Linked DNA regions of Homo sapiens: all the other regions are linked to region 1. The links are contacts of gene promoters, found by promoter capture Hi-C in blood cells and fetal thymus (Javierre and others, 2016). All regions are on one chromosome and are shown on one strand. Each heading gives the region's core, a stretch centred on a gene start or on the middle of the fragment in contact. The rest is flanking DNA. Distances are from core to core; before and after follow the strand shown. Region 1 holds the start of VANGL2 (VANGL planar cell polarity protein 2). Region 2 overlaps ATP1A4 (ATPase Na+/K+ transporting subunit alpha 4). Region 3 overlaps CD84 (CD84 molecule). Region 4 has its middle 26 kb from the start of CD84. Region 5 holds the start of CASQ1 (calsequestrin 1). Region 6 has its middle 5.5 kb from the start of CD84. Region 7 overlaps SLAMF1 (signaling lymphocytic activation molecule family member 1).

The links. The method cuts DNA at HindIII sites, captures the fragments that hold promoters and counts their contacts. A CHiCAGO score of 5 or more calls a contact.
Region 2: a fragment that was not itself captured here is called in contact with the fragment with the promoter of VANGL2 in region 1 in 1 of 17 cell types (M2 macrophages); the score reaches 5.6 in M2 macrophages.
Region 3: a contact is called between a fragment that was not itself captured here and the fragment with the promoter of VANGL2 in region 1, in 1 of 17 cell types (naive B cells). The highest score is 6.0, in naive B cells.
Region 4: a fragment that was not itself captured here is called in contact with the fragment with the promoter of VANGL2 in region 1 in 12 of 17 cell types (fetal thymus, total B cells, naive CD4 T cells and 9 more); the score reaches 14.0 in fetal thymus.
Region 5: the fragment with the promoter of CASQ1 here is called in contact with the fragment with the promoter of VANGL2 in region 1 in 1 of 17 cell types (M2 macrophages); the score reaches 5.0 in M2 macrophages.
Region 6: a contact is called between a fragment that was not itself captured here and the fragment with the promoter of VANGL2 in region 1, in 3 of 17 cell types (total B cells, naive CD4 T cells and naive B cells). The highest score is 6.1, in total B cells.
Region 7: a fragment that was not itself captured here is called in contact with the fragment with the promoter of VANGL2 in region 1 in 6 of 17 cell types (M2 macrophages, fetal thymus, M0 macrophages and 3 more); the score reaches 7.6 in M2 macrophages.

What each region holds. Positions count from the first base shown.
Region 1 is chr1:160,398,922-160,401,814 of GRCh38, forward strand. It overlaps VANGL2 (VANGL planar cell polarity protein 2), which reads left to right and starts at 1,643. Exons shown (of 8, transcript NM_020335.3): 1 at 1,643-1,948. All of the region lies in intron 3 of LOC105371466 (a long non-coding RNA gene), which reads right to left. The HindIII fragment of the contact is 3,661 bases long and covers 1-2,893 here.
Region 2 is chr1:160,158,791-160,161,681 of GRCh38, forward strand. It overlaps ATP1A4 (ATPase Na+/K+ transporting subunit alpha 4), which reads left to right. Exons shown (of 22, transcript NM_144699.4): 5 at 212-346; 6 at 619-736. Among named protein-coding and RNA genes, the nearest start is that of ATP1A4, 8.6 kb to the left of the region's middle. The HindIII fragment of the contact is 1,678 bases long and covers 430-2,107 here.
Region 3 is chr1:160,554,669-160,557,368 of GRCh38, forward strand. The region is part of intron 2 of CD84 (CD84 molecule); the gene reads right to left. All of the region lies in intron 1 of CD84-AS1 (CD84 antisense RNA 1), which reads left to right. Among named protein-coding and RNA genes, the nearest start is that of CD84-AS1, 19 kb to the left of the region's middle. The HindIII fragment of the contact is 6,836 bases long and covers 1-2,700 here.
Region 4 is chr1:160,603,764-160,606,718 of GRCh38, forward strand. No RefSeq gene overlaps it. Among named protein-coding and RNA genes, the nearest start is that of CD84, 26 kb to the left of the region's middle. The HindIII fragment of the contact is 1,383 bases long and covers 714-2,096 here.
Region 5 is chr1:160,189,008-160,192,015 of GRCh38, forward strand. It overlaps CASQ1 (calsequestrin 1), which reads left to right and starts at 1,568. Exons shown (of 11, transcript NM_001231.5): 1 at 1,568-2,023. The coding sequence starts at 1,745. The HindIII fragment of the contact is 15,704 bases long and covers 1-3,008 here.
Region 6 is chr1:160,583,640-160,586,367 of GRCh38, forward strand. No RefSeq gene overlaps it. Among named protein-coding and RNA genes, the nearest start is that of CD84, 5.5 kb to the left of the region's middle. The HindIII fragment of the contact is 314 bases long and covers 1,156-1,469 here.
Region 7 is chr1:160,628,165-160,630,864 of GRCh38, forward strand. All of the region lies in intron 3 of SLAMF1 (signaling lymphocytic activation molecule family member 1), which reads right to left. Among named protein-coding and RNA genes, the nearest start is that of SLAMF1, 18 kb to the right of the region's middle. RefSeq lists an enhancer at 1,496-1,585. The HindIII fragment of the contact is 6,126 bases long and covers 1-2,700 here.

The DNA.
Region 1 (2,893 bases), core at 393-2,892:
TTCCCCAGCTCTCCTGCCACTCCCTCATACACCTGGTCGTGGTCACTGCCAGGAGCCCCAGTGCGGCCCAGTGCCTGCACATGATAGGCACAAGGTGAATGAGTGCCTGGACGCATGCAGGGACTTGGGTACCTGAAATGATGATTCTGCATATTTCATGTAGTCTTGATGCTGAGTCACCTGCTTACCCATACTACTGGAGGAGGGGATGAGGAAAGACAGAGTTTGGGCAAAGGAGAAAGGAAGTGTGTTTTACTGTTCTGCATCTTTGAACAATGCAGCATAGTTGGTTCTGTCCTCATCTTTGGACAGGTTAGAATGAACCATCAAAAGGGGTGAGATTAGGTCTCAGGAAATAGTTTTCATCAGGGAGGAGCAAAAATTCCCAAACAAGTGAGGAACAGAGGCTGGGAGTCTCTTTCTCTGGGATTCCTTAATCACAGGGTTGTTCAAGCAGGTGCCAGGATTGGAAACTGAAGGAGGCTGAGATATTGAAAAGGCCTTGGCCTGCTTAGGGAGAAGTATGTGAAGATGCTTTTGAAATGATACTACTCTAAGTGGCGGGTTGCACGGCAATAACATTAATGATAATTGAATACTGCTTTCACTTACTCCAAGGGGAACATGGACTTCCCACAGCCCAGGCTTTTACGGTGTGGGTTCACTCTTGTAGGGTCACATGTAAAAGAACCCTAACTGGTTTCTTGGCATACTGGGAGGCACAAATGCCCCAAACGTGTAGGATATTTTGTGAGATCCTACAATCCCTGTGTGGCACCTTCAACTCTAAAGTATCTGAAACTCCTGGGATGGACAATCTGCCTGCTTGGGGTTGGGGACCCAACTGGCCAAGGCATTTTTCCTCTTGGAGGTTTCCTGGGAGAAGGCCCCCTCTCCTCTGCCATTCAAACTCCCAGGCGCCCGCGTCTTTTCCTCCTCCCCTTCTTCCCTAAGGCAGGGTTCCCTTTGTAATTAATCCCAACACTCAAACCAGAGGGGAGGAAAAATGTGTTAATGAGGGAGCGTCCCAGACTGACTGGGGCGGTCGCTGCTCGCAGCTAGAACTCCAAGTAATTAAATTATTTTTGGAAGGAGGGGATATGGTGGTGATGGTGTCAGGGAAATCCCCGTATGCATGGGAAGAGGCGTGCGCCTCTCGCCACTAATTAAAATCAGGGATGACCCTCCCTTCTCGGACCCCTAGGGGGAAAAAAAAAATCAATCTTCCCACGTCCCAGATTCCATTGGATTTTGTGTAGTCGGGTCCGTGGCCCTAAAGAGAATATGGCCAGCCCCAGGGATCTGGGGGCTCCTTCTCCGACAGGAGGGGTCCAGGAAGACAGCCCCAGGAGGGACTGCGGGCTGGGCCAAGTCCAAGAATCGAGGCATTCCCCTGCCCACCGTTCGGGACCCGAGTGTCAGCCCCACCGCGGATTCCCAGGATCGGGGAGGGCCGCTGGGCATCTGAAGGCGCAGGGCTGGGGGAGCGGCGACTCCGGGAAGAGCGGGGCCGCAGACAATGGACGCGGCGGTAGGAGGGGCGGCGGCTGTGGGAACAGCCGGGAGGCGGCACCCGGGAGCTCGCGCTCCCCCGCCCCCTGCACCCCCCACCCTCATCCCCTCCCCCTCCGCCCCCTCCCCCCTGCGCCGCCGGCTCCCGATCTGATTCCTGATCCTTGATTCCTTGATCCTTGGTCCCGCCATGGGAGCCTGAGCGCCCCCTATTCCCCCCTGGCCCCCAGCCCCCGGGGCCTTGAGGGGGAAGAGGCAGCGGTCTGGGACGGAGCAGGGGGTGACCAGACTCAAGAACCCCCCCCTCAACATCCCCCATCGCGCGCGCTGCCTGTCCAGGAGCGCCGAGTTCGGAGCGACCCGGAGCGCTGCGGATACAAAGGCGACGGGCCGAGCGGGGCGCCCGCGGAGCCCACCCGGCAGTTCGCAGCGGCGGGTGAGTGCCGGGCCGCGGGGGCGCGGGCAAAGTTTGAAAAAAAAAGAAGAAAGAAAGAGAGAGAAAAAAAGAAATGGAAAAGGAGGAAAATCATGCAAGGGGCCAGGGGGTGCCCGACCCCAGAGCGAGCGGGGTGGCTTATGGGGGAAGGGGGGCTGGACTCCGGGCAACCCCCTTCCGGTCCGCTTCCCCACTGCACAGCGGAGTACCCCCCCCAACTTTGGGGAGGGGAAGGGGCTCGTGGGGAGGGGGCGGAGCCCAGGCCTGGAGAGCCGGGGACTTTCCTGGGCCCGGGCGGGGGCCTTAATGATCCCAGGGGAGCCGGTTGAAGCCGGAGACGGGGAGCTTGTGTTGGAGGTGGGGGGAGAGGCGTGGAAGGATCGGAGTCTGGAGGTATTGGAAGCCAAGGGTGTTTTGGGGTGCATACACCCCTCAGGAGCGTGGGGAGGGACGGAGGCAGGTATGCGTTAAGGGTGTAGAGTGGAGTCAGGGGGGCGGGTTGGGCAGAGTAGATAGGGTGTATGTACAGACCGAGGATGGGGCTGGAGGCGGTAGACTGTGTATAGGGGCCGAGGGGACAGGCGCTGGCATCCCTCTCCCCACTCATATTTACCCATCTGGGGGACTGTGGGCTCTGCGTTAGTGAGTTTTGAAGGGTTGGTGGAGGATCCGTGTGCATGATTCTTTGTTTTGGTGTGTGTGCACGCCTTGACGTGCTGCATGTTCCTGCAGGTGGGCCCCTGGTTTGGATGTGTAGGTGTTTTTCTGTGCTTGAGTGTGTGTGCACCCAGGGAGCGGCTGACCATGCATCTGCTGTGTGTTTGGATATGTGTTTATATGTATACTTAGGGGAGGGCGTGTATGTCTATGTGTGTGTACTGGGAGAGGGGTTCACGGGAAAGAGGTGTGTAGGTACTGAGGAAGGTGGGTGTGTAAGAGCAGAAT
Region 2 (2,891 bases), core at 19-2,518, 240 kb before region 1:
GGAAGAGCGTCAAAGTCACATTGCAAAGGGCCCTGCAAACAGCATCATGGGAATTTGCAATCTGCCAAAGACACCTTCAAGAATGATGTGGTGGGTGACAGTAAGAAAGGGGAGTAAGGAGGAGGGAGACCAATAACAGAAGGTTTTAGGCTAAGAGTGGGATGAGGAAAGCCAAAAGTTTTGGAAATGATCCTGCACTATCCTCTCATAGCAAGCTCTGGTAATTCGAGGAGGAGAGAAGATGCAAATTAATGTACAAGAGGTGGTGTTGGGAGACCTGGTGGAAATCAAGGGTGGAGACCGAGTCCCTGCTGACCTCCGGCTTATCTCTGCACAAGGATGTAAGGTGAGGGGATGCCGAAAGCTATGTGAGGGACCCAAGCGTGATCTCATGGCAGGGTAGACACCTGGGCCGTTAGAGAAAGTATAAGCTTATTACTCAGAATCTTGAGAAGTTACAAGTGCAGATTTGATGTTAGAGACAACAGATGTGTAAATTTGTTTCTCTCAGTCTGTCAGTGATGATGTTGGTGACCAGATGAAGACATACTATTTTTGTAAATAAATCTGCCTTTTTTCCTATGCTCACCTTACAACGCGTCCCCTCTCCCATCCCAGGTGGACAACTCATCCTTGACTGGGGAGTCAGAACCCCAGAGCCGCTCCCCTGACTTCACCCATGAGAACCCTCTGGAGACCCGAAACATCTGCTTCTTTTCCACCAACTGTGTGGAAGGTGAATATCGAACCATAAGTAGCATAGATTCAAAAGCAGGCACCAAAACATAAAGATTTTAATAACTGTCTTCTAAAGGTAGCGAGGTAGGTAAGAGCCAGTAAAAAGTCGAGCTTCTCCATCACGAGCTGTATGACCTCTGGTGAAAGGTCAAGGTCATCATTTCCACATTCGCACAGTGATGACAGTAAAAGTCGTTACTCTGTAGATTTTCGTGTGAATTGAGATAATATATGTAAAATGCCCAGCACAAGACCTAATACATTGTAAGTGACCTACAATTATTAGCTATTATTTTAGCTTGTGAATGGACTATGCTGTTTAAGCTGAAAATGGCACAGAGGGGAGGAAAATTGTTCAGCCCTGCTAAGTCATTCTTCTCTTAAGGTAAGCCCTAACTTCTAACTAGTCCCCTATCCAAGAGAAGATATTGGCATTGGAAACTTGAATTACCAGAGGTGCCACTTAGACTTTACCACTTAAACTTTGGCTTTGCTCCTAGAATCTAGGAATCCTTGAACTGGGAGACAGTTCTGGCAAAGTGGTAATAAAAAGGGACTGAACATCATTCTGTCAATCTCTCCTTTGCCCTTTCCCCTTAAGGAGGCCTGAAGACTCCATGGAGCACACTTGAAAACTATTATTCATGCTTAAGAACAAATGTTTGGTTATCTAAAAATAGTTCTTTTGTTTGTTTTGTGTTTTTTTGAAACAGAGTCTCTCTCTGTTGCTCAGGCTGGAATGCAGTGGTGTGATCTCAGCTCACTGCAACCTCTGCCTCCCAAGTTCAAGCAATTATCCTGCCTCAGCCTCCCGAGTAGCTGGGATTACAGGTGCCCACCACCACGCCCAGTTATTTTGTGTATTTTTAGTAGAGATGGGTTTTCACCATGTTGGCCAGGCTGGTCTCGAACTACTGACCTCAAGTGATCTGCCCTCCTCGGCCTCCCAAAGTGCTGGGATTACAGACGTGAGCCACCATACCCAGCCTAGAAATATTTTTTATTTGAATGCATAGTATTTGTTAAATATTATAAATATTATCTCTAATTCCCACATGCGCACAATACCAGATATTATCCCTATTTTACATGTAGCAGACTAAGGTTCAAAGAAATTAAGCACCATATCCAAGAGTACAACTCAATAGAAAGGAGGCGGGTCAGGGATTCTAATGTAGGTCTGTCTCCATATCTCGTGCTCCTTCCACAGACCCTGCTCTGTGCTGAAAGATTGCTATTTAATTTGAAAATACCTTAAAGAAGAAGCGTAATGTTAAGACAGAATAGACTATGAGAAAGAATCCAACTAGAAAATAAAATACATATATTAAAAATGTTTTAAAATTGATTGGACAGAAGCAAGTTAGCAAGCTTTCCCCAAAAACACTAGATGTCTACTATTAGATTTTAGGAAAAAATTTGCCCAAATTTACCCTTACAAAGTAGGGTTTTCATCAGCTAAGTATATGTTCAGATAAAGGGTATGGAGGAAAGTGGATGGTGGCATTTCGACTGGGAAGCAAGGGTCTGTTTAGATAGAAAATGGTTTTGTAGGAGGCTAAAAAAACCCAACATGTGGCCAAGAAGGTGGAGCTAGGTAGAAGGAGCTGGGCGGAAGGACTTTCAGTTGAGGAATTTCTCAGCAATTCACAGACCGATAGCATTTACCCTAGATCAATTTGCCCTTTAACCTTTACCCTAGACTTTTAACCTTTGCCTTAGACCAATTTGCAAATTAGTAGCATAACTTTAACCTTTACCCTTGCCTCCCATGTCTCATCACCGTAGACCTTGACATGGCTGTGGCACAGACTTCTCTTTGGGTTCTCATGCATCTTCAAGGGAGCCCAAGCTATTTCTCTGGCAATACATGGAAGGTGTATGAAGAAGCCAGTCTGGCCTGGGGTGCTGGATGCTTGGCCTTCTCAGCCTTCCCTGAGGTTGACATCAACCCAACCCCATCTCTAGACACACTGAGATTAATTATTAAATCCCGTTTCTCCAAGTGTGAGGAAACCATAGCAGAAGGAATAAAATAGAAGAACTAGACTAAACCATGACACAAGATATATGTAGGTGACACCATACACTACCCACCCTCCTCCACCCGGCCCAAAATAGGAAACTCCTCAGCATCTCTCAAGTATTTCAGC
Region 3 (2,700 bases), core at 46-2,545, 160 kb after region 1:
GTGTCATTGATAAACAAATGAAGCTCCAATATATATGTCTTTGTTGAATCACTTTTTTCTTATTATTTAACTGAAATGAAAATATCAACCGATGTTTGTGTTGGAACTATACTCATACATCAATTACAACTATAAGCTGATTAGGGATATAAATGCTTAGCAAAAATCAATGAAAGCATTCTGTAAGAATAATTGGAATTTATCCTCTAGTGCCCTCTCAGCAAAATAAATTCTATATAGAATTTACAATAAAGACTATTATATATTTATTATCATTAATGAAACTGTGTGCTACACATCCTTCAAGTCAATAAAATTTGTACTAAACATAAATTTTATATATATATATGAATACACACACCCAATTAAGAGCTAATTAAATATTTATCAGCACACAACTACATGAAATAATCTTTTTTTTTTTTTTTTTGAGACGGAGTCTTGCTCTGTCACCCAGGCTGGAGTGCAGTGGCATGATCTCGGCTCACTGCAAGCTCCGCCTCCTGGGTTCAAGCCATTCTCCTGCCTCAGCCTCCCGAGGAGTAGCTGGGACTACAGGTGCCCACCACCACGCCTAATTTTGTTTTTGTATTTTTAGTAGAGATGGAGTTTCACCGTGTTAGCTAGGATGGTCTCAATCTCCTGACCTCGTGATCCACCCGCCTCGGCCTCCCAAAGTGCTGGGATGACAGGTGTGAGCCACCGCACCCAGCCAAAATAATCTTTAAAATTTTTTTTCATTCTGTTTTCTGGTGTATGTATATTTTCTTTATTTTTTAAAAACTATCCATGGTGGAAAGCTATAATTTCTTTAAAAGTTCATTAAAATGTTTTTACTTAAGCAATCAAAAAGTAAACTATAAAAGTTGAAGGCTAGTAAAGGGTTACTAAAGAACAATAATAATTCAAGTGATAGCTAGGACTGGAGCTGGCATGGGGAAGCGTTAAGGTCTTTTCTTTTACCAGGAATAAGAAAATGACCACATTTGGAGTTAATAAGTTCAGCGCCCTCTCAGCAAAGTTGCTGTGGTGGGGTTTGTTTCTTCCACTGTAGCTATGTGAGGAAGGGAATAGAGGAGTCAGAAGGAACTGGTGCACAACTAGAAAGGCAATAAATTCAGAAGTGTAGACACAAGATATAAGAACCATTATCTTGCGTTTGTGAAGGAACTCAACATGAACAGTAAGAAGCTGTAAAAATGTTTGATTCCAAGCTAGCCAGAAATTCTGGTCCTAACAATCTTTTAGAGGGATCTATTCCATATTAGAATTAGTGAAGACTTGGAATAAACCCAAAACAAGTTTGGGGTACAGACCTGGATTAACTATAATAGTGACTGATACGATATCAATTAGTAGAAAGTGAACAAAATTTTGTGTGTGTGCGTGTGTGTTTCTTTAGAAATTTGATTTACAAAAATGCCTAGGGAGTGCTTGGTGTTTACCAATTGTTGGGGGTAGGTGTTGAGGTAGGGGACAGTGGTAAAGAAGAGGATCCCATCTCACTTTTCTCAGCAGGAACAGAGGTGTTGCCTGCACAAAGATGCTGGGAAGAGAAAGTCAGAGTCATGGCCGACAGATCTTCATCCTCCCAAGCCAAGATTGTGGAAGCCACTGGAGACCTGGTTCAGAATCCAGGCTCTACTGCTCTCTAGCTATGGAATAATGGAGAAGGTATACAGATTCATGGAGCTTCAGCTCCCTTATTTATAACATGAGGGTAAAAATTTTTCCCTAAATACAATTGTTGTGAGGATTAAATGAGATTTTGAAGATAAAGATTATTCTAATTACCTATTTACTTATCTATCATCTATCTGTCTGTCTATGCTGGTATGCACATTAATTATCTATGGAAGACACAGAAGAAGCTGGCTACAGCCACTGCCTCTGAGAAGAGAGAGTTACATCTCATTGTATTATCTTTTGCTCTTTTTGTGCATACAGTGCTTAAATATGTATAGTCTATATATTTTTAAAATAGATATTAGAATGCCAAACACATAAATGATGTTCAATAAATGTTAGTTTCCTTCTCTTTATTTTCCCAGCTAACTACCCATAAGGTACAGATTTTATTGTATATACAGTACAGCTTTCTCTAAGATATTACTGTACTGTGTCCTAATTGCACGTGGTAGAAGACTTTCTGAAGATTGGGTAGGCAAAATTAAACATATAAAGGGTTAAAAATCAATATCTTAAAATTGAATACCATCTTTATTTTCTCAGCTAAAGTTCTCGAATGAGTTAAATATTTTCTAAAGGGTTGACATTTGGGTATGGCTCTTTGACTACATTATTCAAGCCTAGTTCAGAGCCTTCTTCATCTAGGAAGTCCTTCATAATGAGATTTTTTTTAAGGGATAAGGATTAAAAAATTAATGATTACTAGTTATTGAGCATTTACTTTAAGGCAGGCACTATACTAGGGAGCTCAACTACCATTATCTCATTTAATACCATCAATTACGATCTACATTCTATAAGTGAGGAAACTTTGGAACAGAGAGGTTAAACAACTTGCCCAAGATCATACAGCTGGCAAAGTATGCCTAATCCCAACATTAGCGTTCTTTCCGCTATGCTGTCCATCGGTATAGAAACTGATTCAATCATCTTATATTAATCGAACATTCACAATTGCTAAGCACTGTGAAACCTGGGAATAATACTATTCATTCATTCTTTTTCAACAAA
Region 4 (2,955 bases), core at 155-2,654, 200 kb after region 1:
TTCTGTCTTGATGCTTTCTAGTTCTGTCAGTGCAGTATTGAAGCCCCCCACTATTATTGTGTTCCTATTTCATTTCTTACATCTAGCAGTGATTGTCTTATAAATTTGGGAACTCCAGTGTTAGATGCATATATATTTAGGATTGTAATATTTTCCTGCTGGACTAGTCCTTTTATTGTTATGGATTGTCCCTCTTTGTCTTTTAAAACTATTCTTGCTTTAAAGTCTGTTTGGTCTGATATAAGAATAGTTACTCCTGCTCAGTTTTGTGTCCATTTGAATGCAATATATTTTTCCACCCCTTTACCTTAAGTTTATGTTAGTCCTTATGTGTTAGGCAAGTCTCTTAAAGACAGCAGATACTTGGTTGGTGAATTCTTATTCATTCTGACACTCTGGATCTTGTAAGTGGAGCATTTAGGCCATTTACTTTTAATGTCAGTATTGAGATATGAGGTACTATTCTATTCATTGTGCTAGTTGTTGCCTGAATTGCTTGGTTTTTTTTTTCATTGTGTTATTGTTTCATAGGTCCTGTGAGATTTATGTTTTAAGAAGGTTCTATTTTGGTGTATTTTGAGGTTTTGTTTCAAGATTTAGAATTCCTTTTAGCAGTTCTTATAGTGCTGACTTTGTAGTGGCAAATTCTCTTGGTAGTGATACATTCAGCATTTGCTTGTCTGAAAAAGACTTTATCTTCCCTTCATATATGAAGCTTAGTTTTGCCAGATACAAAATTCTTGGCTGATAATTATTCTTTTAAGGAGGCTAAAGTAAGGATAATTACTTAGTTTAAGGATATGAAAGATAGGACCCCAATCCCTTCTAGCTTGTAGGATTTCTGCTGAGGAATCTGCTGTTAATCTTATAGGTTTTCCTTTATAGGATACCTGATGCTTTTGCCTCACAGCTCTTAAGATTCATTCCTTCATCTTGACTTTAGATAACCTGATGGTTTAGATTACCTAAACCTGTGTGTTTAGGTAATTATCTTTTTGCAATGAATTTCCTGGGTGTTCTTTGAGTTCCTCAGGAACACAAATTATTCTTAGGTTTGGTCATTTAACATAATCCCAAATTGGCTGGAGGCTTTGTTCATTAAAAAAAACTTTTTTCTTTGTCTGTGTTAGATTGGATTAATTCAATAGCATTGTCTTTGAGCTCTGAGGTTCTTTCTTCTACTTGTTCCATTCTATTGTTAAAACTTTTCAGTGTATTTTGCATTTCTCTAAGCATGTCTTTTATTTCCAGAAGTTCTTATTGTTTTTTATTTATAATATCTATTTCTTTACAGTGTTTTTGTCCATATCTTGTATTATTTTAAAAATTTCTTTAAGTTGGTTTTCACCTTTCTCTGGTGCCTACTTGAGTAGCTTAATAATCAACCTTCTGAATTCTTTTTCTGGCAATTCAGAGATTTCTTCTTGGTTTGAATCCATTACTGGTGAGCTAGTGTGATCTTTTGGTGGTGTGATAGAACTTTGTTTAATTATATTGCCAGAATTGTTTTTCTGGTTCTTTCTCATTTGGGTCAATTATGTCAGAGGAAAGGTCTAGGACTCAAGGGCTGCTGTTCAGATTCTTTTGTCCCACAGGGTGATCCTTTGATGTGGTGCTCTCCCCTTTCCCCTACAGATGGGGCTTCCCAAGAGCTGAACTGCAGTGATTGTTATTGCTTTTCTGGGTCTAGCCACCTAGTGGACCTACCAGGCTCCAGGCTGGTACTGGGGAGTGTCTGCAAAGAGTCCTGTGTTGTGATCTATTTTCAGGTCTCTCAACCACGGATACGAGCACCTACTCCAGTGAAGGTAGCAGGGCAGTGAAGTGGATTCTGTGAGAGTCCTTGGTTGTAGTTTTGTTTAGTGCACAGGTTTTCTCAAATGCTGGTTATGCTAACAGTGAAGTTGTCACATGGACAGACTCAGGACCTCTGGTTAGCCAGGACGTTACAAGTGGTGGAATTAGCTGTTGTTTTCTCCTTCCTTGGAGCAGGGCTATTTTGTTATGAGTTGCTATAATGGCTTGACTTGATTGGCCTCCAGCCAGAAGGTGGCGATTTCAAGAGAGCATCAGCTGCAGCAGTACGGGGGAATACAAGCTTGCCCTAAGGTCACCTGGATAAGTATTTGGGTTTCTCAGGTGATGGGAGGGCCATAGGGCTCCCACAAGATTATGTCTTTTGTCTTCAGCTACCAGGGCTGGCAGAAAAAGACCATCAGGTGGGGGCAGAGTTGAGCATGTCTGAGCTCAGACTATCCTTGGACAGGGCTTGCTGTGGCAACTGTGCGGTATGGGGGTGTGGTTCTCAGGCCAATGGAGTTATGTTCCCAGGGGGATTATGGCTGCCTCTGCTGCTTTGTACAGGTAGCCAGGGAAGTGGGGGAAAGCCAGTGGTGACAGGCCTCTCCCCACTCCCACACAGCCAGCAAGGCCAGTCTCACTCCTGCCATGCTCCCCAAAGAGCCAAATTTATATCCAAGCCTCTGGTATGCAGGGCTGGGATGTTGCCCTGGGATACTAGCCTCTCTGCTGAGAAGGCAAGCAGGGCTTTCAGGCCTCACCCCTCCCTGCCTGCTGTGGCTTCTGTGCTCATATCTGCACTTTCTATTCATCTCCACAGATCCTGACCAGGACAATTCGTACTCAGTCAAAATTATTACAAAGTTCAGCTGGAAGTTTCCTTCTCCCTGTGGCCCTTCCCCAATCCCACTGGCAGCCCTCCCCAAGGAACCCTGTGAGATAAAGTCAGAAATGACTTCCCTGGACTTCCTGGGGGACCAGGAGTGCCTGTAGGGCTCTTCCCACTGCTTCTTCTACTTTTGTATTTTGCTTGGCTCTCTAAATTCATTTCAGCTCTAGGTAAAGTTAAATTCTTCTCCTGTTATTTGGATTTTCAGGTTTCCCCAGTGAAGATGTGTGTTCAGAGGTAGACTTTCCCCCTCTCACACTTTAGGC
Region 5 (3,008 bases), core at 318-2,817, 210 kb before region 1:
CAGCTCCAACGTGCTGTGCTTAGGCTAGCTCCAACCTCTCCTGCTACAGTGACAGCTGTCCCTCTTGGCCTCACTCCTGCCATGCTTTTGAGATTTTCTGTGGCCTTCCGTGTTCAGCTGTGTAAGGTCCACCACACAGACATGTGGAAAAGTTATTCTGCTAACATAATTACATGACCCTCCCTGGATGCAAAACAAAACAAAAAAAACACCACTGTCCCTCTAGAATCAGAGATACCTCAGGGTGCAGTGGCAGCATGTGACTTTGATCTGACCCTCTATGGTCTCCCTCATGCCTCAGTTTACCTGTGCATAGTAAGAACCCTGGAGGGCCATGAAGAGGATCCTTCCTTCCTACGTATCCAGAGTTAAACTCACTACTCTGTCCTCACCCCCCAAGCTGGATCCAGAAGTTTAAGCCCCTACCCGCCCATCTCTGCTTTGGATCTCGGGTGCACAGAATTAATCATCAGTCTTGGTTCAGGGCACAGGGTTCACCTCTTCATGCTTGCCTAATGTTAATTTTTTTTTGCCCTGGTGTCAATACCTGATCCTCTTTGTCTTGTCAAAGACATGGGAATAAATAGTAGCTATTCACTCTCCTTGGAAGCATGCAGCCTGGGAAAACCTCCCTTCCCACTGTGCCCCAGAAAACCGAGTCCCATAGGATCAGGGTAGGGAGTGCACACACAGGTGGCAACCAAAGGACAGACCCCTTCTCATTGTGGGCTTTATAGGCAGAGAAACCCCAAACCCACATCTCTACAGGACAGGATCTGGGCCAGCCCTGTCCTTCCCTGCATTCCCAAGTTAGGAGTGCTGAGTGAAGCAAAGGAAACTGGCTGGAGCTGAGCCAGGTTGCCAGTCTTGGACGCGGCTCCATCTTTTATTCAGAGAATGACCTCATCCTTGGTCCTGGTTCTTTAAAAGAAAGTGGAGGGGGTCTCTTTCCTGCAGCCTGGCTTGCACTTTTATCGCCCCACTCTCCTACATAGTATCAAAGAATCAGAATCAGACTTCACCTACAGAAGATTCCCAGGCTTTAGGACATAGAGCCAATACCACATTTGTCCCCCTTTTGTCCTATATTATCAATTTAGCCTCTGACCCAGTTAGCTCCTCCTCTCCACTGCATTTAACTTCTAATTACCCTTGCCCCACCCTCGGCCCACCCTAATTACCCTTATACCTCCCCTCCCCCAGCCCCAGCTTCATTTACCTCCGACTCATCTGGTCTTATTTTTAGCTCCGGCATCTCTCCTTTTCCTTTCTTAATATGGCGATGAGCTCTTAGGCCAGTGTGGGGACCGGGGCTGAGGTGCCCTGGACACTGGAGGAGGGGGAGGGAAGGAGCCCCTGGGAGCCTGGGGTAGAAGTGTAGGAGGTGGGAGGATTCCGGCCCGCATGGAGCTGTCCTGGCCTCAGAAGGTTATCCGTCTCTCCTGCCAACCATGGAGACATATTTAGACAGGACCAGGTGGGGACTGAGGGGTGCCAATTTCAGGGGGCAGCTCCGGTTCCCTCCCCGCCCCCTGCTCCTATTCCTCCACCTGACCCTTTTTCCCTTGGCTCTGTCGGCAGTTTCTCCAGGACCCAGCAGTGCCCTCTGTCCACTGCTCTGGGCCATTCCCCAATCCCCCCTCCCACTTGAGCCCCTAACTCAGAATCTGGGACCCAGGGGCCCCTCCCTACCCCAGCTAACCTCTTCTGGACCAGGAGAGCCAACCCAGATCCCACTACCTCCATGAGTGCTACAGACAGGATGGGGCCCAGAGCTGTGCCGGGTCTGCGGCTGGCACTGCTGTTGCTGCTGGTGCTAGGGACACCCAAGTCAGGGGTACAGGGGCAGGAAGGGCTGGACTTCCCTGAGTACGATGGTGTGGACCGTGTGATCAATGTCAATGCAAAGAACTACAAGAATGTGTTCAAGAAGTATGAGGTGCTGGCACTCCTCTACCATGAACCCCCCGAGGATGACAAGGCCTCACAAAGACAATTTGAGATGGAGGAGCTGATCCTGGAGGTGAGTTGGGGGCACTGCAGGCCTGCAGAGCATGTCTAGCCCCTCTCCGGAATCCCCTATCCTACACCCATGTAGCTCTTTGAGGATGGGATCTGGGGGTGAGGGGCAGTGTGGTAGGAACCCTGTCCTGACCAACAGGATGCAAGTGGCATGTGGCTTTAGTCAAATGAGAAACAGAGTCTCAGGAACCCAAAAGTACTATCAGCGTCAGGAAACCTTTAGCAGGGGTGCTGCAGGAAGAGCTCCCCTCCCTGCTATAGGAGGCTGGTAGTATTTGACTTAGGTTTGGCTAGGACACTGAGGGTGAAAAAGGGAGGTACTTGGAGGGCCAGGGGAGAACAGCAGTGTATATTGCACTCCCCTACCCCACCCATCTGCTTAGCCAGAACACGTCCTCTCCACATACTTCAGGGGCTGCACCCCAAAGAGATCCAAACTGAGTGTAAATGTAAATGTTATGATACTTGCATGCCATGTTTAAATATCTCCTAGAGATCATGCCTCCCATTGGACTCCCAGTCCCCTCTCTCTTCCTTCCCCCTCCCTAATTCCCCATTTGTCTCCATTGGATAAGCTGGATGCCCTCACTGGAAAATTCTTATGGTTGCAGGAGGTGTCAGAATGTCTTCCCCAATCTTCTTTTTGTGGGAAAAGTCTCCTCACCTCCAAAATGACTTCAGGCCCAAAGGAGAAAGAAGTTATCATAAGAAAAGAAAAAAAACCTATGTTTGGGAATGTGTTCATACACACACACCTTTAGGAAATGGGATGTGAGTTTTCTTGTCCAAGCTCCTGTGGCCCCTTCTCTGGCCTCAGCTTGTCCAGAGCTTGGAGCATTTCAGGGTGAGACACCAGAACCACAGGCTCTCATTTTGTGCACCCCTGCTGGGTGCTAGAACCTGCCATCTGATTAATGAGCCGAGTATTTTTATCCTGAGTGCTCAGTATCCCTGGCCATCCACCTGCCAACCGCCTCCCTTCCCCA
Region 6 (2,728 bases), core at 63-2,562, 180 kb after region 1:
CTTTCCCCATTTCTTGTGTGTGTCAGGTTTGTCAAAGATCAGATGGCAGTAAATGTGTGGTGTTATTTCTGAGGCCTCTGTTCTGTTCCATTGGTCTATATATCTGTTTTGATACCAGTGCCATGCTGTTTTGGTTACTGTAGACTTGTAGTATAGTTTGAAGTCAGGTAGCATGATGCCTCCAGCTTTGTTCTTCTTGCCCAGGATTTTCTTGACTATGTGGGCTTTTTTTTGGTTCCATATGAAGTTTAAAATAGTTTTTTCCAATTCTGTGAAGAAAGTCAGTGGTAGCTGGATGGGGAGAGCATTGAATCTATAAATTACTTTGGGCAGTAAGGCCATTTTCATGATACTGATTCTTCCTATCCATGAGCATGCAAGGTTTTTCCATTTGTTTGTGTCCTCTTTTATTTCCTTGAGCAGTGGTTTTTGAAGAGGTCCTTCATATCCCTTGTAAGTTGTATTCCTAGGTATTTTATTCTCTTTGTAGCAATTGTGAATGAGAGTTCACTCATGATTTGGCTCTCTGTTGTCTGTTATTGGTGTATAGGAATGCTTGTCATTTTCGCACATTGATTTTGTATCCTGAGACTTTGCTGAAGTTGCTTATCAGCTTAAGGAGGTTTTGGGCTGAGACAATGAGGTTTCCTAAATATACAATCATGTCATCTGCAAACAGAGACAATTTGACTTCCTCTCTTCCTATCTGAATACCCTGTATTTCTTTCTCTTGCCTGATTGCCCTGGCCAGAACTTCCAATACTATGTTGAATAGGAGTGGTAAGAGAGGGCATCCTTGCCTTGTGCTGGTTTTCAAAGGGAATGCTTCCAGTTTTTTCCCCCATTCAGTATGATACTGGCTGTGGGTTTGTCATAAAGAGCTCTTATTATTTTGAGATATGTTCCATCAATACCTAGTTTATTGAGAGTTTTTAGCATGAAAGGCTGTTGAATTTTTTCAAAGGCCTTTTCTGCATCTATTGAGATAATCATGTGGTTTTTGTCATTGGTTCTGTTTATGGGATGGATTACGTTTATTGATTTCCATGTATTGAACCAATTACACAATTCTGACTGAGAAATTAAAATTGGGCGAACTTATCACTCAATGAGTGCCAAAGTTGTTGCTCTCAGATCAGCTGAAGGCAAGAGCAAAGCTTTCAATGGAAATTTTAAAGAAGCAGGATGATCCCACTTTGAAAATGCTTTGTAGAAGCATTTCTTCAAAGAATTATAACAGGAGATGTAACCTGGTTTTATCAGTATAATCCTGAAGACAATGCACAATCAAAGGAATGGCCACCAAGAGGTGGAAGCTGTCCAGTCAAAGCGAAAGTGAACCAGTCAAGAGCAAAGGTCATTGGAACAGTTTTTTGTGATGCTCAAGGCATTTTGTTTGTTGACTTTCTAAAGGACCAAAGAACAATAACATTTGCTTATTATGAAAGTATTTTGAGAAAGTTAGGCAAAGCTTTAGCAGAAAAATGCCCAGAAAAGCTTTGCTAGAGTCTTTCTCTACAACAAAGCTCCTGCTCATTTTTCAATAGGAAATCTTTAGGATCAACTTTACTGTCCTGATTTGGCTCCTTCTGACTTCTTTTTGTTTCCTAATCTTTAAAAAATCTTTAAAGGACACCCATTTTTGTTCAGTTAATAATGTAAAAATACTACATTAACATAGTTAAGTATCCAGGACACTCAGTCCTTCAGGGATGTTCTAAATGGTTGGTATCATCACTTTCAAAAGTGTTTTGAACTTGATGGAGCTTCTATTGAGAAATAAAGTTTACATTTTTAGTTTTTCTTTTTAAATTTCATTTTTCATAAATGTTTGAAGTCTGAGATTGAAGAGATTGGTATTTCTGGACAGAAATAAAAACCCAGAAAGGAACCAAATGAAAGTTCTAAATTGGTTCCAGCATTTAGGTTTGCAACAAGAAAACATATACTAGTTTTATTCTTGTTCTTTAACTTTTCCATCTGGAAACACTTAAGATTTTCCCTTTATCACAGAAATTCAAGATTTTACAAGGATGTGTCCTGGTGTGTTTGCATGGCATATTTCTGGCTGGAATCAGTTGTATTTTCAGTCTGATGGTTCAAATCTTTCTTTATCAAAGGGAATTTTTCTTCTGTGTCTTTGATTATGGCTTCCTTTTTGGCCTTTCTACTTGCTCTTCCTAAAAGTCCTCCTAAATATTTAAAGCTATCCTCTATATTGCTGAATTAATATCTCCTGATTTTCTCTTTGTCTTCTTGCTTTACATACTGATAGAGTTCCTTATAGACACCCTATAGAATGTCTTCCAAACATGGGTTCTCAGCTATGTTTACAGTTTTCAGCTATTTGCTTGAGTTTTAAACTTTGGTAATACGCTTTCATTTCCAAGTCTTTTCATAGTCTTCAGTTGTACCTGATTCATAATTATCTTTAATTCCATGTTGAAAAATTCTCTATACTAGATAAAGGGTAAATTAAAAAACAAAACATAAGAATAAAACTCTGGAAAACAACTATAACTGAAAGAAAAGAGAAGAAAGAAAGAATTATTAAAGCAATAGGAGGAAAACAGGAGAGTTGATGTCATGAAAGCAAAACAACGAAGGGTTTGAATAAGAGAAATATGAAAACATTTTTAATTCTGCAAATAATTAAAAGGGAAATGAAAGAGTACATGCAATTTTTGTAGTGTCAAGCAAAGTTTAGGCTCTGAACAAGCAATACAAA
Region 7 (2,700 bases), core at 74-2,573, 230 kb after region 1:
ATACAATCAGTTTCCACAAACAAACCAAAAAAACTTTTTTTTAAAAACTTACACCAATAATTTTGTGGGTTTAAGTTCTCTGCTGAAGATTGAAGGGTCCCAGGGAGCAAATTCCATTGTGAACCAGGCAGCTTTCACCACCTAGCAGGTTCAGACTCTCTCTTTCTCTTCCCATTTCTGCACAAGTATCATCTTCCTCCATTCTCATACAGAACCATCCAACCCACACCCAGATTCCTGGGGGGTCTCCACCTGCCTTCTAGCATTTATTAAGGTACTATCATAAACAAATACAATTCCTTTTCAAAGAGGAATTCTAGTAGCAGTTCCTTGATTATAATATGTTTCTTTAAATATTATATTTTTCTAGCTAGTAAGATGTAGAAGTCCCACTTTGATTGCAAATTCCATGAAGGTAGGCCCTGTACCTTATTCTTTATTTGTATCCTCCATTCCACCGGAAACAATATAGGGCAGGAGGGCACTCAATATGCACTCGATGAACTAAGTTAAATTAAATGAGAGTCCACAAAAATGGATCTAGAAAAAGACTGTCACGTAGCTTTCTGTTTAAAAATTACCAGAAGGAATGCAGGGTCACCTGCTGAATGGCCCAAGGCAGGAATCAAAGGGAAGGAGAAGTGACCCACTTGGCTTATACTTTACAATAACAAGATGGAGCCAGGAGGCAAGTGTGTGTCTGTGCCATCGGCGCTTCACCTGTGCTCCCATTTTCAAACCACCATTTCCTGTGGCAGAAGCTCCAGCTCTTCTTCTCTTTGCTCAGTCATGTAGTGAGGCCTCTCTGGATGGTGATGCTGAGAAATCAAAGTTGTCTTGGGGTCTAGAAGCTCCTGACTCCTTCATTCACAAAGAAATGCTACCTGAACATTTCTGAACCAGAGGTTTGGAACTCCCCCTACTCCCGAGGCTCTTAGAGGCGGCCGAGCAGGCTGGTCAATAACTCACATGCCATTTGGGAAGAGTGCTTTGCTCGAGTCTCCACCCTGGGCCCTCTCCACCTATTGTCTGTGGTTTAAACGTGATAACTTGGCAGACAGTCACACATCCAAGGAAAAAGCCAGAGGGCGTTTTTTTTCTTGTCTCTGAAAGTGTTGTCACAGAAACACAGAAGCGTGTCTCTCTCTCTCTCTCTCTTCTCAAGTCCCAAAATCTTATTATTAATATTTTTTTTAGGGAAGATGAAAAAGAAAACTAAAAAGAATCTGAGAAACAAATGCAGTTCACCTAGGAGATACTGCGACGTTAGCGTAACGGTGGGAGCGTGCCGGATCTCCTTCCTGCCTTTCATGTGGTTCTGTCAGCAAAGGCTGCCATCTTCAAGAGATACATTCTTGTTCGTGGCAGTTTCCATTCAGAACTGGGGGTGGGGAAGGATCCTCATGAACCATATACTAATTTAAGTTCTGGGACCATCCAAGTAAACATTTTTACGGAGTTCACAGCTTCCAGAAAAATCACTTACAACCTGCCTATCCCACCCAGCATTGCAGAGGCTACTAGCTCCAGTGAGATTGCGCTCATGCTTTCGTGGTAATACGAGTCTTTTCTGGGCATGTAGCTGCTCAGCTAGGAGCTATGTGTCTCAGCTTCCCTTATAGCGGGTGTGGCCCATGACCAGGCTCTGGGCTGTGCAAAGTTTCCAGGTTTTTCCTTTCCACCATTGTTTTTACGCTCGCTAAATTGGGAAGACCCTAGAGAGAGACCTGTCTTAGTGCCTGGAACATCTAAGTGACTCTGAAACAATGGGAACTCCCTATTTGAAGAAATGACCTTGTTAGAAAGGGGAAGCCTCCGGAGCTCACTGGCAGGCGTCAGCCTTTTCTTTCACTGAGCTAACTCAGAGGTGCTGAGCCAGCGGTTTGCTGATCTGCTGAAAAAGATCCTCTCTTCAAGATGAGCTTCCAGGGGCATTCCTTTCTAGATTCCTTCATTCTAGCACAGCCATATCTATTTCAGAATACAGTCATCGAGGATGGCAGCAAGTCACACACTGTCCACAGCTGACCCACATCCACTGGCTTCACATGACCTAGCCAGAGTACTTCATAGCACCCTAAGAATTGGACTTTGCAATAAAGATGCTTCATTATGATAGACATTAACACACTGAAATGGCAATTGGAACAAGGATGAATACATGACCTGAACAAATGTCACCTAAAGAAAAAGATTTCAAGGAACATATAAGTTTTTGCACAGTTTCGCTTAAGTGAGTCCTGTCAAGATTCAGTGCTCACATCACATTGCATTCCGTCTCATCACACCATTAACCGCTGTGAGGTTTTCATTAATGAAAATGAAAAATGTCTTAAAATCACTGTCCTGATGACAGATGGCAAAGCAACCTCTAATAAACCCTCGGACCCCACCCTTTCATCCCAAGGCTGGGGTTTTCCTTTGTATGCCCTAGGAAAAATGTCTTTGTTAACTGACAGTTGCTGCTTTGGCTCGGGTCCCATCATTTTGATGGATGACTGCAATAATGGCCCCCAGGAACTGGTTTCTCTTTCTTCCCCACTTCCCTGCCCCAGTCTGTTCTCTATACTACTGGAGTTCCTCTTTGAAAAGCAAGACTGATGGTGTCACTCCTCTATCTAAAACTCTTTATTAGTTCCTATCACCTACAAGATAATACAGAGCAAGACCCAGCTGTATCTGCTCCTCCCTCTGCCTGGA